Linked DNA regions of Homo sapiens: region 1 is linked to region 2. The links are contacts of gene promoters, found by promoter capture Hi-C in human tissues and cell types (Jung and others, 2019). All regions are on one chromosome and are shown on one strand. The core of a region is centred on a gene start or on the middle of the fragment in contact, and the rest is flanking DNA. Distances in the headings are between cores, read along the strand shown.

Evidence for each region. The method cuts DNA at HindIII sites, captures the fragments that hold promoters and counts their contacts. A contact is called where the count stands out against the background at its distance.
Region 1: a fragment that was not itself captured here is called in contact with the fragment with the promoter of LRIT3 in region 2 in 1 of the 25 tissues and cell types used here (spleen).

Annotation. Positions count from the first base shown.
Region 1 is chr4:108,684,673-108,687,372 of GRCh38, forward strand. No RefSeq gene overlaps it. Among named protein-coding and RNA genes, the nearest start is that of OSTC, 35 kb to the left of the region's middle. The HindIII fragment of the contact is 4,266 bases long and covers 1-2,700 here.
Region 2 is chr4:109,846,692-109,849,391 of GRCh38, forward strand. It overlaps LRIT3 (leucine rich repeat, Ig-like and transmembrane domains 3), which reads left to right and starts at 1,416. Exons shown (of 4, transcript NM_198506.5): 1 at 1,416-1,626. The coding sequence starts at 1,511. The HindIII fragment of the contact is 6,154 bases long and covers 1-2,126 here.

The DNA of each region.
Region 1 (2,700 bases), core at 123-2,622, 1.2 Mb before region 2:
TCAGAAGTGCAGACAAGTGGCCCAGAAAAGGAATCTGTATCTCTGGGTCTTTCAGGTCTCGCATGTCGAGGCAGATCTATTTTTTCTTTTCTCTTCCCTTTTTTTTTTTTTTTTTTTTTTGAGATGGAGTCTCATTCATTGCCTAGGCTGAGTGCAGTGGCGCGATCTCGGCTCACTGCAACCTCTGCCTCCCTGGTTCAAGCAATTCTCTGCCTCAGCCTCCCGAGTAGCTGGGACTACAGGCGCCTGCCACCACACCTGGCTAATTTTTGTATTTTTAGTAGAGACATGGTTTCACCATGTTGGCCAGGCTGGTCTCGCACTACTGACCTCAGGTGATCCGCCTGCCTCAGCCTCCCAAAGTCCTGGGATTACAGGCGTGAGCCACCGTGCCTGGCCTACTTTTTCCTTTTCTACCCACCCCACCCCAACCAACCTGTCTCAGTGAAAACCTGGTTGTTACTAAAGTGAAACTTTAATAAGGATATTGCCTAGGGAAGATTAGTTGTTTTCCTTGTCATTCAAGTTCATTCTGGACCTCTTCCTCTGAGCTGTTAATCAGTGTTGCTAAACAGACAGGGAAAGACAAGGGAGAGAAAAATGCTGATTCATTCTTCAGAACTTTTAACCCTTTTAACCCCTAATTCTTCTCCTTGAGAAGCTATTCTTTGATTGTGAAAAGCTTTGTTGTTCAAGGAAATATGGGTAATAAAAATAGCTAACATTTATTAAGAGCATAACATTTATTAAGAGAATACTGTATGCCAGATATTGTTCCAAGCACTTTTCATATTAACTCACTGCATCCTCATAAAATGCTATGAGATAGTACAACTAAGGCCATTTCATAGATGAGAAAACTGAGGTTCAGAGAGATTAAGTCACTTGCCAAAGATTGCACAGGTCCTAGGTGGCAAGCCTGCAGTAGAGATCCATAGCCTCTGCTCCTAACCACAACGGGGTCTTCTAGGAACGTGTCCTTATTTGGCCTCAAAGGAATAATAATCTTTTAATATTTTTTAAAAAAGAGTTGACTAGATTGGAAAGTGCCTAAGTTCAGGGTCTGATTCTATTTCTTAGTTACTTTACAAAATTTTCTGCACCATACCTCTAGCTATATATTCATACCCACTTGTCGTAGCACTTAGAAGTTTTATCAGTTTAGTCTCACTTGCCTTTGCATCTGAGCAATATGCACAATGGTTAGTATCTATTATTATTATTATTATTATTATTAAGACAGAGTCTCACTCTGTCACCCAGGCTGGAGTACAGTGGTGCAATCCCTGCTCATTGCAACCTCCTCCTCCCAGGTTCAAGTGATTCTCATGCCTCAGCCTCCCGAGTAGCTGGGACTACAGGCACGCACCGCCATGCCCAGCTAATTTTTGTATTTTTAGTAGAGATGGGGTTTCACCACATTGGCCAGGCTGATCTGGAACTCCTGACCTCAAGTGATCGCCCACCTCAGCCTCCCAAAGTGCTGGGATTACAGGTGTGAGCCACCATGGCCAAAAAATATATAATATTATATATTACATATATCTTATATCTATCTTGACATATGTTTGGGGACTTATATAGAAATAACTTTTGGAGAATGCTTTAAAGTTTACAAAGGGTATGTTCATTGCTTTACCTATGACTAATTATAGATATTTAACATGGCCTCATTTATTTGAAATTTAGAAAAGTATTTTTTCATATAACTTCCCTTTGGAAGCATGTTAGTTTAATTCTACCCAAACTGTATGTGCAAGATTATATGTACATATGTTTCTTTTGATAATGCAGCTTTTATATTTCATTTTACTAAATTCAGGCATGAGAAGAGGATAAATCAAGGAAATTTACTCATATAGGTGGTTCATGGCTTCAGTAATGAGGTAAGCTATACTATAAACTTAGAAAAATGAGAAACGAGAACCCCTTTATGAAGCTGGTAAAATGTTCCTAAAATAGAGGTGATTCGCTATCTTGGATTATAAGCTGAGAAATCATAATAATGTGGAACTGAAAATTTGGGGAACACCCAACTCCAATCAAGGTGAGCTACGTTTGATCCCCGGGATCTGTTCACTTGTGCTGTGGTGGGTCTGCAGATAGACAGGAGATAGAAGCAGGAGGATCAGGCCAGACCATAAAAAGAAAATCCCCCAAACCAAGGTTTCTCCTGCACTGTCCAGATTAGAAGGAGCCTTTGCAAGATTATTTCAGTAAAGGAAAGAAGTGCCTCAAACTCTTCTTTAAGAGACGTTTTAGGTTCACTCATTTCCCACTGTTTTGGCTCTACTCACCAAAGCCACTTCCTGATTTGATTGGCTAAAGTTTTATTCCTCTGATTAAAATCTTTCAGATAAAATCTTCATGATAAAAGCCCAACTCCTAATAGTGGCCCCAAAGGCCCTGTACATCGCCTCTTCCCCCTCTCCATCCTTTGATCTCATCTCCTAGTCCTCCAGTTCATTCTGTCCATACTGCCTTCCTTACTGTTCCTCAAACACACCAATCACACCCTGCCTCATGGCCTTTCCTCTCCCTCTACCCAGATGGCTCATTCCCTCATTTCCTTCAAGTCTTTGTTCAAAGGTCATTTCTCAATGAAGCTTTCCTTCTCTGTTTAAAAATTACAGCTTCTACCTTTCTAATTTCTTTTCCATAGCACTCAGTGCTGTTTATCATACTATATAATTGCCTTGT
Region 2 (2,700 bases), core at 166-2,665:
TGATAACTTCATCCCCGCTTATCTCTCCAGCTTTATCTTTTTTAACTTCCTGCCTCAAAATCTTATGCCTGAGCAACAAGAAGTGCTTGAAATTCTCTGAGGACAATACACTGTTTCTCACTTCCCTCCCTTTGTTCCCACTATTCCCTTTGCTTGCAATGCAACTTTCTGGATTTTCCCATAATACATCGTCATGCACCCTGTAAAAGGCAGCCAGGCACCACCCACCCTAGGAAGTCTTGCTTGACTAACACAGGCTGGGTTTGATGCTCTTTTCTCGTGCTTCTTTAGTAGTCTGTTCCTCCCTTTATCGTGTGAGTTCCTTATGTGTAATAACTGTCTTATTTATCTTTGTACCCCTCAATGCTCAGCAGAGAATAAGTACTCAGTAAATATTTGATGAACAAACGAGTTGTGCAGAATCTGAAAACCTGCAGTATTTTATTTTAATTGAGCACAGTTTTTCAGACTGTATGGTTTTTATATACATTCTATTGGTTTTAAATAACATTTTCTATAATATGCTTATTTTTATAGAATTAATTTTCTTTTAAAAAGGTTTTTAGTTAAAGAGGATGGTTAGAAGCAGCCACTAAGAAGGTTAAATGACGTATATTTATTACTTAAATCCTTGATTGTCCCTGTGGATTCTCCACTCTATGAGTGTGGAGATACTTTTAAATTTAATTACATTTAATTTTTATTTTCTGACAGAGCCTAATATAGCTGAAAGAATTAGAGTTGATCTTCAAATATGGCTTTGATGCTGATAACTTGGGAAACTATTGAACAGAGATAGTTGCCTGCATTAAAAATAAATGTGCTGGGATAAACCTTCCACACACTGAGATGACCTGGAAGAGTCTCAGAACACGTTCTTATTGGAGAACTTAGTCCTGCCACATCAGTAGTGGATTGAAGCATTTTCCCTATAAAATCTGTGTAACTGACTTGTTTTACTTTACTTTTAGAGATAGCCAGTATGTGGCAACATCGATAACTCTTTTCTAAATCATTTTTATGTCATGTGCTTCTATTTTTAAAACTAAATTTTGTAAAACTGAATTAGTAACACATTCTGGCAAAAACCAAATGCAAAACATTTTATAATGTTGTAACATGTAAATAATCTACAGAATTTTCTTGCATCTGCCAAGACTGAATTATTTTACATTAAGTATATTTTTAAGGTGTAGTGGCAAGTACATCCAGAAGAAAGGGATTTAATAGGCATTTTCTTGCAAATCTAGTTACGGGTAACTATTGAAATTGCTTGTCATGTGTTTGATTTTCATTTTCCTTAGAATGTGTTACTTTGCTGAAACTGTATTCAAAGGCTGGATCAATTGATCTCCTGCAAGATACACTTGAAGGTTAAGTAACTACAGATCTCAGCTAATCCCGTGTAATCTGCTGTTACTAAATGGCTGTTTGTATTCCAGGCATACCAGGTTCTGAATGCTTAGGATTCGGTTTTTACCTTTTGTTTAAATAACCTCTAAAAGGAGCAATGCATCTCTTTGCATGTCTGTGCATTGTCCTTAGCTTTTTGGAAGGAGTGGGCTGTTTGTGTCCTTCACAGTGCACCTGTGATTATCACGGCAGAAATGACGGCTCAGGATCAAGGTATGCTCCTCTGCTTGTTACTAAGTGTTCTCATTATTTTGACAAAAAGGACCCAAACAAGAAAGCCTACTTTTGAAAGCAAATGTTTGGGGATCAGAAATCACAGAAGAGAATGTTTAGTGTCCATAAGCTTTAACTTAATTGTTTTAACACTGGTCACCTACTCCTTCACTGTTTTCGTTTTGAGCAGTTTAACTCTCAAAGGCCTCTCAAGGTATTGGAAATTTCTAAACACATTCTATGTTCCAAAATTTTTATTATGCTCATGTTCACAAATTGTTGCTTGAGATCAAACGATTTAAAGGTGCATGGCCAGCTAAGCCCTTGATTATAGAAAGGCTAAGAGGGCAGGCTGAACAGGAGCTGCGTGACATGCTCAGATCCTTTGCTTTCATGGCTCTCCACTTCCTTTGAGAACTATTCATGCCAATTGAATGGCAGAAAGAAAGATCTCAAGAGTGAAGTTAGAGAGGTTAATAGTTAGAATTTTTCATTTTAAGCTGATGGAATTTACAAAATAAAGAAGATTGAAAAAGATACTGTCTGTTTCAGACACTGCAGGATCTCACAGAAGTTATTCAATCTCTAGGTTGCTTTAGCATCTACTTGTGTAGTGAGAAGAGTTATTTACTTATATTGTGCATGAGGCCTTTTAGATATGTTAAATGCAAAACAGAACTCTTGCTAGCTAAACACAGTAGAACTTGAATTTTTTTTTTGAGAGGTTATTTAATAACAAAATCAGGTTATTTGTGACTTGGTTGAAGTAAACGGTGTCTCAGATAAAATAATTTGTTAAAAGAGTTGCCCAATTTATGTCTTATAACTTTAAACAAATAAATAATAATAAATAAGACATATTTGTGAAAAGCTTATCTTGTTATTGTATAAACTTTAGTTAACCAATTCTTGGTATTTTTTGAGATATTCACTGGGTGGTTAAAGACAATGAAGAGAATGTAGCAAGTTAAAGACCTACTTGTCCAGGGACGTGTAGCAGTGAAGGATCAGGCCAGGGTACTTTTGAGAAACTATCACAGAAATGTTTCCTTCTTTGTGGTGACCCCATTATTG